Regions from separate parts of the Homo sapiens genome. Here regions 2 and 3 are each linked to region 1. Evidence: promoter capture Hi-C in human tissues and cell types (Jung and others, 2019). All regions are on one chromosome and are shown on one strand. Each heading gives the region's core, a stretch centred on a gene start or on the middle of the fragment in contact. The rest is flanking DNA. Distances are from core to core; before and after follow the strand shown. Region 1 holds the start of GRHL3 (grainyhead like transcription factor 3). Region 2 has its middle 24 kb from the start of LINC02800. Region 3 has its middle 42 kb from the start of LINC02800.

The links. Contacts are between HindIII fragments. The study calls those that stand out against the background at their distance.
Region 2: a fragment that was not itself captured here is called in contact with the fragment with the promoter of GRHL3 in region 1 in 2 of the 25 tissues and cell types used here (liver and mesenchymal stem cells).
Region 3: a fragment that was not itself captured here is called in contact with the fragment with the promoter of GRHL3 in region 1 in 2 of the 25 tissues and cell types used here (mesenchymal stem cells and spleen).

What each region holds. Positions count from the first base shown.
Region 1 is chr1:24,317,177-24,321,267 of GRCh38, forward strand. GRHL3 (grainyhead like transcription factor 3) reads left to right here and starts at 2,181. Exons shown (of 16, transcript NM_198173.3): 1 at 2,181-2,392. The coding sequence starts at 2,376. All of the region lies in intron 1 of GRHL3-AS1 (GRHL3 antisense RNA 1), which reads right to left. The HindIII fragment of the contact is 14,571 bases long and covers 683-4,091 here.
Region 2 is chr1:24,221,897-24,225,987 of GRCh38, forward strand. No RefSeq gene overlaps it. Among named protein-coding and RNA genes, the nearest start is that of LINC02800, 24 kb to the left of the region's middle. The HindIII fragment of the contact is 5,414 bases long and covers 1-4,091 here.
Region 3 is chr1:24,240,324-24,244,414 of GRCh38, forward strand. No RefSeq gene overlaps it. Among named protein-coding and RNA genes, the nearest start is that of LINC02800, 42 kb to the left of the region's middle. The HindIII fragment of the contact is 8,376 bases long and covers 1-4,091 here.

The sequences.
Region 1 (4,091 bases), core at 931-3,430:
GGACCCATTTTTAAAACCCCAGCGAGCACAGACACGCCACCTGGAATCCCAGCCTCCCCTGAGCCCAGTCAGCATGAGTCACCCCACAGCCCTTCACCTGTGGGTTGCAACACGGTTGACAGAAACTCCACAGCCTTCCATGAGGTGGGCAGACAGGTACATACAGAGGAGTGTGCCATCCTTTGGACTGCAATAAGCTTTGCAGTTACAGTTGGCACCAAATAGCCCTTCAGCCACCAATAAGCTCTGTGAAGTGGTTGGGCACCCAGGCTCTGCTCTCGGATTAAATCCCAGCTCTAGCTCTACCACTGCCTAGCTCTGCAGCTTGAGTAGTTTACTTCAGTATTCTGTACCTCAGTTTCCTCATCTATAAAATGGGGGTATCAAAAATGTCTATCTCCCAGGGTTGCTGTAAGGATTAGGCGACACAATGTATGCAAAGGCGCACAATGCCCGGTGCCTGTGGTATATGAAGCACCTACTAGGTGCCAGACACTGGAGATTCCACAGTGAGCGACACAAAGTCTTTGCTCTTATGGAATTTACATTCCAGAGGAAGGGGAGAAAGACAATAAACGATTAGAAAAATATCATAGGTCATATTACATTGTATCATAAGTCATAAGGGCTCTGCAGAGAACAAAAAGTAGTGTGATCCAGAGTGATTGAATGTCTACTTTATTAACAAGGGTGACTGAAGAGGGCTGCTCTGAGGAGGTGGCTTTATTAGCAATTATTTACTATTATTTATTAGGGTCCCCTGGGCTTCCCCCAACACAGCCTCCAGGGAGAAACCAATCTCTGAGAGTTCTCAAACCCAGTACCCCCTCTCCAGAGCCCTGACCCCACCCCAAGAGGGCTCCTTTGAATTCTGACTTTACCCTGAAAAACCTCCATAAATTGGCAGGGGTAGCTGAAACCTCACTTGCCGTTCCCAGAGAAGAGAGAGAGGAGTGGGCCAAGTTGAGGTTTCCAGGAAGACACAGCAAAGAGATAATTTGCCAAAAGGGGAAGGGTGGGGGAGGGGAGAATAGAAAGAGAGAGAGGGAAAAAAAGATGCCAAGATCTCTGGCTTAGATTTAATTTCAAACTAATCCTGGAAGAAGCTCTTTAAAAAGCTCTTACATTCTCCTGTTTGTGTTTGTGGATATTCTGGGGTTTACCAAGCTTGTTCTTTATAGTAGACAGCTCACAGCAATTACTCCACAATTACTTCATCTGACAGGCATTGAATTTCTCCCAAGTTCCCAATACAGAACGAAGCACTTGGAGCCTGTGAAATGACCAGCTGGCTGAGGCTTCAGAGGAGCCTTCAACTTTTCTATCCCTTCTGTGCTGACCAGAGGTATGTGGCTTGCCCACACCCCCTTCACACCCAATAAAAGCCTGTTCTCCTTTACTCCCCCACCCCCTGCCACCAACACACACCCCCCAGATTGTAAACTCCTTTAGAACAGTAACCCCTGTTTTTTCTGGCCTCAGTTTCTCCAGAACCCAGAGTAGGGTCTGGCACACAACGGGTGCTCAATGAATGTCTACTGAATTGAGGCCACTGACTTCAGCCCAAGGGGCAGCCAGACTTGGAGTGAGATGACTGCAGATTGGATCTGGGCTGGGACCTCGCTAGCTGTGCCCTTGGGCAAGGCACTTTGCCTCTCTGGCCTCCATTTCCTCCCTCATCTGTAAAATATGTGTTGAAGAGGAAGGGGGAAGCGATAATAAATCTACCACGGTAGGTTACTTTAAGAACCAAAAGAAGTCACTTGAGTAACTGCAAAAGATTATTCAAAAATATTACCTTAAAGGGGAAACTGAAAAAAAGGGAACTTATACAAAGATCTACCTGGGAAAAGTTGCTCTCTCCTTTGAGAATTCCCCAGTGGTACAGAAGGAGGGGGCAAAGAAATTTGGGGGTGGGGATGTTTCTGGGTATCTGGGACAATGACTAGAAACAGGAATCAAGTTTTCCTTTAAGCCAAGTTATCTGTTTGTCCCTGTACTTTTCCTCTAGTTATCTTGCTTCTTTCCAACATTTTCTTCTCCATCCCTCCTCCCTCATCTCCACCCCCCACCCCCTCACCAAGGAAGGAATTGGCCAGCTCCACCCAGCCAGTCCCCCATAGCTCCGCCCTCCTCGGCGGGCTAAGAGTTAACAGCTGCACCTGTTGAGGTATACCTCCAGTCGCCGGCACCTGTACCTGTAGCCAATCAGCGCCAGCGCTGCTGGGAACCTACCTGTCAGCAAAATCTCGACACCCAAACCTCAACATAAATCAAACACTTTCCCGGGCAGAGAATGTCTGTGTCAGGCAAGAATTAGAGACAAGCGGTCAGCAGAGCCTCAGTGCTGATCGTCGGAGCTTGGGAGCAGGAAGATGTCGAATGAACTTGAGTGAGTAAACATCGGTGGATACCTGCCGCTCTCAGAGCGTGGAGGCTGGATGGGGTTTCCTGGAGGGGGAAGAGCGGGGAGGCCGGCACCGGGATTCACAGAGCAATTTGTAAGGGTAAATGAATGGGCTGACGATCTTACTTTGGCGTGTCAAGGCAAGCCCCAGTCTCAAGCTAGAGGTGAGTGTTTCCCTGGGAAAATAGTTTTTCTCATTCTCTTTGCTGAGCAGTTTCGAGCCAGGCAGGGAAACACAAGACTGAAACTGTGAAGGTTTCTGGCACCACTTTTTGATCCTCTGAAGGGGCCTTGGAAATCAGACGACCCCAATCCCATCGAGGCTTTCTATCTTCTTGCCAAAAGGAACTTCTTTAAGGTAGTTCTAAGAGCTGTCTTAGGCAGAGAGTTGGGTTTCTCTAAAGGGACTTGTTTGCTGGGTTGGAACAGTCCCAAGTGGGAAGGTTACAGTGTGGTGGTTAAGCATGTGTACTCTTTGTAGTGGGCTTGACCTAAGTTCAAATCCAGGCTCTGTCCCTGGGTGATCTCAGACAAGACATTCAATTTTTCTGGGCTTCATTTTCCTCATCTGGAAAATGGGTACAAGAATGCTTTGTAGAATTCTGGAAAGAGTTAAGTGTGATAAATGCTGTAAAATGCTTAGCATAAAGCTATGGTCTGAAGATGCGTTCAGTAAAATGTGGTTCCTCTCATTCAGAGGCAGTTCTAAGGCTGGGGAAGATGAGAAGTGATTTTTGGTAGGTCACCTCTTTTGGCTGGGAGGATGCATGTGCCTTCCTGCCCACATCTGAGATTTAAGATCCTGACTGACTGATGCTGATCTTCACCATGATGTCCTTCTTGGGGTCCAGACCTTAGAGAAGGTAGGGTGAGGCTGGGATCTGGGCTGCTTTAGATTGGGTTCAGGGAGCTGGCAGGAGAAGCCAGAATCCTTTAAACACAGGCTCTCCTTTTCCTGCCACCCTCAGAGGTGAGTGGGCAGAGGCAAGGATTGTACCATCTTTTTTCTAACTGCTCCTCAACAGACTTTTAAGAACTTGAAGATCTGTGGGCAGACAGCAGTGCTAGGTCCTGACTGCAGACCGGATTCTATGTTCTAGCTAGCCCTTCAGCTCTTCATGTTCACAGCACAATCACTTGGGTTAACAGGCACATTTCTTTTGAATGAATTTCCCGGGGTTGACAATGTATTGACAATTGGACCGCAATGAGAATAAGAGCAGGAGCATTGGTACTGACACCTGGGTTCAAGTCCCAGCTCTAGCACTTATAGCTGTGTGATGTTGAGCAAGTCCCTTAATCCTCATCTGTAAATAGTGGCCAACAGTAGTATCCACCTCATGGGGTTGTTAGAGGATTTGACAATTTTAGAATAGTGATTGCTTTTAAGGCTGGTGGAGAACACACCAGTAACACCATTGTCATTTCATGTAGAACTAACCAATCAATGAGCATTCCCAAACCTCTTGCTATTTTTCCATACTTTGAACGCGCAAAAAAATCTTGACATGTGTCTCCATCCCACTTAAATTTGCTGGCTAAAACTGCGGAGGCTACAGACAGAATCTATTCATTACTGCACGTTAGGGGGTATGTGTTCTGAAGCTGGGTTACTTGAACAGAAAGGTTTCTTGCTTTTCTCCTCCCTAATGGTTTGGATTTGAAGTCAGATCCGCTGACAGTT
Region 2 (4,091 bases), core at 979-3,478, 95 kb before region 1:
TTATAAGTGAAGAGACTGAGGAACAGAGAGATTATGTAGCACATCCCAGCTAGAAGGTCCCTCAGCTAAAGGCGGGCAGAATAGGGTCTGTGGCCCCAAAGTCCACACTTTTCCCACGAAACTGGGTAAGAACACAGGTGTTCCCCAGAGGCAAAACTGTTGTCCACCGCAGGTTCACAGACCCCCTCTGTCCTGATTGATCATGGACCCCTCCCCATGCCTTCCGTCTTCACCAGCCCTCAGTCCTTGTGACTAGGTCTGGCTCTACTCAGGGACTGGGACAGCTGGCACCAGGCCAGCGTCACCAGTGGCCCCAAACTGCTGGGTTTCCCCTCTGTCATGGGAGGCTGGCACTTAGGTATCTCTCAAGGGTGGAACCAGGCAAGTTTATAAAGAGCTTAATGAAATACCCGTTTCACAGCTCTCAGAGCCAGGCAAAGCTAAGTGCTCTGTGCAAGGTTCTTAGAGAGCAATTAAGAAAACCTTTCTTAGGGGAGTCGGAAGCCTTGTGGTGGGGGTGGGGGTGGCAGGGAGTGGGAAGAGGGAGGAGCAGGGTTGACAGCTGAGGCCCAGCTCTACCCCTTCCTGGAGGTGTGATCTTGAATAAGCGATTTCGCCGTTCCTACCCTCAGTCTTTTCATCTAATTCAGGTGGGGATAATTAGACCTACCTTGCTTGGTAATTTTTAAGATAGAGGATTTAATTAAGTGAAGTGCTTTGAACAGTGCTTAGCGCACATTGGTGCTTACTAAACTTTTCTTATGAATGAATGAATGAGTGAATGAATGAATGAACAAGAATAACTGTTGACCGCGCTGAGCTGTATACGCGGGTCTGAATCCCATGCTGGTTTGGCTGGCTCTCTGCACTCACTATGCCTGGAACAGAGTAGTCACCTAATACATATTTGCTGAAAAAAATTCTTCTAAGTCCAACTTAAGGAAGTTTTCAGGCACACACACACAAAAATCATACACTGCATTCCAAAGTAGATAGAATTTATTCAGGTGGTGATAATACCTCAAGTCTTCAGACCCAGTATCAGGAAGCCTCATCTGTGAACCAGGAAGCAAGCAGAAAAGACCTCTGAACACACGAAAGTATAAAGTTCATGTGCCAATACCTATGACTTCTTTCCTAGAAATACCCTCTGACTCTCATTTGTAACCTAGTTACTCTTGGCTTACAAACAACTTTCATTAAGGTTTTCAAGCCCACCTTAGACTAGAAGAAGCAAGTTGGAGAGGAAGAAATCCTGGGAGATGGAGAAGTACTTGTACAGAAACAATTCCAGGTTGGGCACGGTTGCTCACGCCTGAAATCCCAGCACTTTGAGAGGCTGAGGTGGGAGGACTGCTCGAGCTCAGGAGTTCGAGACCAGCCTGAGCAACATGGCAAAACCCTGTCTCCACAAAATATACAAAAATTAGCCAGGTGTGGTAGCATCGCCTGTAGTCGCAGCTACTCGGGAGGCTGAGGTGAGAGGATGGTTTGAGCTCAGGAGGTCAAGGATGCAGTGAGCCATGATTGCACCACTGTACTCCAGTCTGGGCGACAGAGCATGACATTGTCTCAAAACAACAACAAAAACAACCAAAAAGACAAAACAAACAAACAAAAAAACAAACCAATTCCACCAGGAAGTTGGGCTTCATAGCCATAAAATAGGAATAACAAAAATTCAAGAAAACCCCACGATAATGTAAATCTGGTAAACTGCTATTGGCAATTTGGCTCCAGGTCCCTAGAAGTCAAGACCAGCTAGCTACGCAGGTGGCTGTACATAAGCTAATGCAAGATTGCATTTGAAACAATTGGAATTTGTGGGCCCCACTTTTAATGTTCTGGTGGGGTTTCTACTATGGCAATATTTCTCATTTATTGAGGGCTTCATATATTCCAGATGTTTTAGGTACATGTTCTCACTTAATCTTACAATCAACCTATGAGATGGGTACTGTTATCCTCTTAATACAGAGCATGGCTTCTAATCCTTGGCACTGTTGACTTGTTTGAGGGGCTGTCCCTTGTGTTGTAGGAAATTCAGCAGCATCCCTGACCTCTGCCCACCAGATGCCAGTAGGATTCTCCACCTTCCAGTCATGACAACCAAAATTGCCAGATGCCCCTGGCACAGAATTGGCCCCAGCTGAGAAAATGTTATAAATGTGGGAACTGAGGCTCAGAGAGGGTGAGAGTTGTCCAAGGTCACACAGCTTGCAAGTGGCTGAGCTGGGATTTATACCCAGGTCCACAGGTGCCAGACAGAGCACAAGCTCTGAAGCCCTGGAGGTTGTGCATAAGTTACTCCACAGAGATTGCCGGGAGGCTCCAATGGGATCATCTCCCAGAACAGAAGTCATAAGTGGCTGTTCTGAAGCCATCAGTGGCTGACGTAGGCTCATTGGGGATGACCTTTACACTTGGGGACAAATTCCCCTGAACTATATCCTTGGTCTCCCTGACTCTCTCCTCTCCTGCATTTCCATAGAGGTTTCCTTCTCACAATGTGGAAGCAGCAATGAAGGGCCATATCTGGGGCCTTGGTATCCCATTTTTGTTAGGCAACTGGTGTCTTTAAAGGGTGAATTTTGGGAAAAAATAATACCTCTCCTATCTGGGTTTATGGGACTACCATCTGAGCTGGTTGTCCTACTGAGGCCGTAAGTCAAGGAGGACAGTTAGGGTTAATGGAACCCAAGGACCCCAGTGAATTCAGCGGGGCCTGTGTTGAGGATTCCCAGGCTGTAAGTGGGCTCAGTGATGAGCAGGGCCATCTGGCCTGGGTACGAGAGGAGGAGTATGGCAGGCTGTTTCCATCCCCGCCTTGGGGCTAGAGGGAGTTGATCCTCTGGCAGGTCCTGAGTCAGGAAGGCAGGGCTTTGGCAGAGGAAGGGGCCTCTGCATCCTTCTGGGCCTCACTCACTGTGATCTGGGCCTGGCGGAGCTTGGGTGTTCTGGTGGGGGATGTTCTGAGGGATGGAGAGTGGCCTCCTGCACACGGAGGTAGACAGGGAGCTGAGTGCTTGCTGAGGCTGCTGAACCTGAGGCTGCTGAACCAAGGCTGAGGGGTGTGGCAGGTGACACAGGTAACTTTGTCTTGTGCTGCCGTCTGTGTTTATTTCCCTCCTATCTCCCTTCCCCCACCCAGGGACTTAGTGACTTCTTGTTTATTATAATAAAAATTTTTATTTTTTTGAGACAACTCTGTCAGTCAGGCTGGAGTACAGTGGTGTGATTATAGCTCACTGCAACCTCGATCTCCTGGGCTCGAGCGAGCCTCTCACCTCAGCCTCCCAGTAGCCAAGACTACAGATGCGCGCCACCACACCGGCTATATTTTTTGTATTTTTTGTAGAGACAGAGTCTCGCTATGTTGCCCAGGCTGGTCTTAAACTCCTGGGCTCAAGCGATCCTCCCACATTAGCCTCCCAAAGGGTTGGGATTACTGGTGTGAGCCCCCGTTCCTGGCCAACCTCTTGTTTAAAGGAGCTCAGCTGCACTATGGGGAATGAAGGCAAGAGCTCCGAGGCTGTGCTTTAAGCAGACCACCAAAGGGAGCTCTGTGCGCCCCTCCCCAAGACAGCAGGGATCAGTGAGAAGCCCCCAAAAGAGGCGGAATCTCGAAGGACAGGACTTGGAGCTGTCCCCACTCTGTTAACAACTGTGGAGGCGGAGGGCTTTGGCCAGAAGATTCCTACAGAAGCCACCCTCCCCAGGGTGAGCAGCTGGTTCAGATCTTGACCTAGAGGGATCGGGGAAGCACTCGAAACAATTTCACCATTATCTATAAGGATGGCTTCACACACATGTAACAGCCTACTGGGAAAGCTTTTTTTTTTTTAAGACGGGGTCTCACTCTGTCACCCAGGCTGGAGTGCAGTGGCGCCATCTCGGCTCACAGCAACCTCTGCCTCCCAGTTCAAGTGATTCTCATACCTCAGCCTCCTGAGTAGCTGGGATTACAGGTCTGTGCCACCACACCTGGCTAATTTTTGTATTTTTAATAGAGGCCTCAAATGCCTGGCCTCAAGTGTCCACCCACCTCGGCCTCCCAAAATGCTGGGATTACAGGCATGAGCCACATGCCT
Region 3 (4,091 bases), core at 646-3,145, 77 kb before region 1:
TCCTCTTGCCTCAGCCTCCCAAGTAGCTGGGACAACAGGTAGGCACCACCACATCTGGCTAATTTTAAAATTTTTTGTAGAGACGGGGTCTCACTTTGTTGCCCAGGCTGGTCTCAAACTCCTGGGCTCAAGCAATCCTCCCATCTTGGCCTCCCAAAGTTTTGGGATTACAGGTGTGAGCCACTGGGACTGCCCCACAATCTTATTTTATATATACAGAATAGTCTCTATGTATAAGATTTATGTCTTCTGTTAATTGAAGGCCTTAATACAGTCATCCAAGGCTGGTTTAATGACCTCCAACCATCAACAAGGAAGACGTTTGGAGAAACATGAGGGAAAAGGAAAACACAGGCAGAGAATCAAGGGGATTATTGGGTGACTTCCAAGGAGTGTGAGTGAACCTTGGGTCCACTCAATGCACAGCACCTCACAATATGCTTCTTTCATTTAACATTCTCCCTGGACCTCTCTCTAGGTCGACTCTTGTGATGCTACCTCATTCTTGTTAATCATTTCATACTTTTTCATTACGTGGCTGGGTGACTTGATTCACCCCTTCTTCCACTGATAGCATTCAGGTCATTTCTGATTTGTTGCAGTGATTATTGCAGACAATGTCGGACTAATCATCCTGAGATATATGTCTTTAAAGACTGGGCTGTGTAGCCCATTGTACTAGTCTATTCTCATGCTGCTAATAAAGACATACCTGAGACTGGGTAATTTATAAGGGGAAGAGGTTTGATTGACTCACAGTTCAGCATGGCTGGGAGGCCTCAGGAAACTTACAATCATGGCAGAAAGGGGAGCAATCATGTCCTTCTTCACATGGCAGCAGCAAGGAGACGTGCCAAACAAAACGGGGAAAAGCCCCTTATAAAATCATCAGATCTCATGAGAACTCACTCACTATCACAGGAAGAGCATGAAGGCAACTGCCCCCGTGATTAAATTACCCCCCACCGGCTCCCTCCAATGACACATGGGGATTATGAGAGCTACAACTCAATATGAGATTTGGGTGGGGACACAGCCAAACCATATCACCCGTTTAGTATCTTTGTGCAAATTAGCAAAAAATACCCCTCCCATAGACACCAGCCTGTAACAAAGTACGCAGCTTGGCAAGTGGCGTGTAGGCCGGATTCCAGCCCTACATGCCCCATCGGTGTGGTGTCCTTCCTTGTGCAGTGAACAACCTGCACATCCTTATATGGTAGTCTCATCTTCCACACTCTGTTTCTTTCTCCCCCTGTAAGACGGCTCCCTAAACGTTAGACTGCCAGGACGAAGGGTCTGTGAGCATTTTTTTTTTTTTTTTTTTGGAGACAGAGACCCTCTGTCGCCCAGGCTGGAGTGCAGTGGCGTGATCTCGGCTCACTGCAACCTCCACCTTCCGGGTTCAAGCAATTCTCCTGCCTCAGCCTCCCAAGTAGCTGGGATTACAGGCATGAACCACCATGCCTGGCTAATTTTTGTATTTTTAGTAGAGACAGGGTTTCACCATGTTGGCAAGGCTGGTCTCAAACTCCCGACCTCAGGTGATCCACCTGCCTTGGCCTCCCAAAGTGCTGGGATTACACGCGTGAGCCACTGCGCCCAGCCCTGTGTGCATTTTTAATAATAAAATATTCTACTACATTTTTGTGCGTATTTATAAAATTATATTTGCTATCTTGGAAGGTGCTTTTTAAGTATATTTCGATCCTAACATATTTGGACTGTCTTTCCTGTTACTACCAATTCAATTTTTGTACAGTGATTTTTCTTAACAGCTTTTGGGGTATAATTGGCATATAATAAACTGTACCTATTTGAAGTGTGCAATTTCATAAATTTTGACGTATGTATACACTGTGAAACCATCACCAGAATCAAGACAATTAACATATTCATTGGCTCCAAAGGCCCCTTGGGAACCTCTCCTTCCCTCACTGTCTGGCTCTCTCCATCCTTAGGCAACTACTCATCTGCTTTCTGTCACTATTGGTTAACTGTTCATATTTCCTAGAATTCTGTAGAAGTGGAATCATACAGTATGTGCTTTTTTTCCATCTGACTTCTTTCACTCAACATAATTATTTTGAGATTCACCCATGTCGTTGCATGTATAAATAGCTCACGGCTGGGCGCAACAGCTCACCCCTGTAATCCCAGCACTTTGGGAGGCCAACATGGGCGGATCACTTGAGGTCAGGAGTTCGAGACCAGCCTGACCAACATGGTGACATCCTGTCTCTACTAAAAATACAAAAAAATTAGCTGGGTGTGGTGGTGCATGCCTATAATCCCAGCTACTAAGGAGGCTGAGGCAGGAGAATCGCTTGAAACTGGGAGGCGGAGGTTGCAGTGAGCCGAGATCACACCATTGCACTCCAGCCTGGGTGACAGAACGAGACTCCGTCTCAAAAAAAAAAAAAAAAAGGCTCATTAATTTTTATTGCTGAATAGTATTCCATTGTCTGAATATACCACAATCTGTTTATCCACTCACCAGTTGATGAACATTTAGATTGTTTCCAGTTTAGGGCTGTGGCAAATAATATCCTCTTATTCAGATTTGCTCTGAATATTCATGTACAAATCTTTGAATGGACATAAGCTTTCATTTCTCTTGGGTAAATCCTAGGAGCGCGATGGCTAGATCACATAGCTGGTGTATATTCAGCTTTTTAAGAAAATCCCTGCGGGGAGCGGGGAGAGATAGCATTAGAAGATATACCTAATGTTAAATGACGAGTTAATGGGTGCAGCACACCAACATGACACATGTATACATATGTAACAAACTTGCACATTGTGCACATGTACCCTAAAACTTAAAATAAAAAGAAAAAAAAAAAGAAAATCCCAAACTGGTTTGCAGAGTGGTTGTACTATTTTACGTTGCTACCAACAGTGTTTGAGAATTCTGGTTGTTCCACATCCTCAGCAACACTTGATACAGTCTTTTTGGCTGGGCGCAGTGCTTCACACCTATAATCCCAGCACTTTGGGAGGCTGAGGTGGGAGGACTGCTTGAGCCCAGGAGTTTAAGACCAGCCTGGGCAACATAGTGGGACCTTGTTTCTACAAAAGAATTTAAAAATTAGCTGGGTGTAGTGATGTATGCCTGTGGTCCCAGCTACTACTCAAGCCAGGCTAAGTGGGGAGGATGGCTTGAGCCCAGGAGGTTGAGGCTGCAGTGAGTCGTGTTCACACCACTGCCCTCCAGCCTGGGTGATGGAGCGAGATCCTGTCTAAAAACAAACAAACAAAAAGCTGTATTCTTTTTAATTTTCGCAACTGTATGTTGAGCATCTTTTATGTGTTTACCATCTTAACATTGTATTTGGTGAAGTGTCTCTTCAAATCTTTTGCCCAGTTTGGCCAGGCGCGGTGGCTCAAGCCTGTAATCCCAGCACTTTGGGAGGCCGAGGCGGGTGGATCACGAGGTCAGGAGATCGAGACCATCCTGGCTAACACAGTGAAACCCCATCTCTACTAAAAATACAAAAATAATTAGCTGGGCGTGGTAGCAGGCGCCTGTAGTCCCAGCTACTCAGGAGGCTGAGGCAGGAGACTTGTTTGAACCCAGGAGGCAGAGCTTGCAGTGAGCCGAGATCGTGCCACTGCGCTACAGACTGAGTGACAAAGCGAGACTCCATCTCAAAAAAAAAAAAAATATTTTGCCCAGTTTTAATTGGGATGTCTGTTTTCTTACCATTGAGTTTTCAGAGTTCCTTATATGTTCTAGATGAAAGTCCCTTATCAGATATATGATTTGCAAACATTTTGTTTGTATTTTACTTTTGCATTTTATCATTTTTATTATATTTTACTTTGTATTTATTTTATTATCTTTATGTTTGTGTATCTTACTATTTTTTTTTTAGACGGAGTCTCGCTGTGTCACCCAGGCTGGAGTGCAGTGGTGACAAAAACTTTGATAAAGTTTTTAATGTTTGTTTGTTTGCAAATGAATATCCACTTGCACATTGCTTTTAGTGGTGAAAAATAACCATTCACCAGCCAAATTTTTCCCTGTTCTTCAAGACAAGTCCTACCTTAAATGCTTTACTTTCTGCAGTGTCTTGTCCACTTGGGCA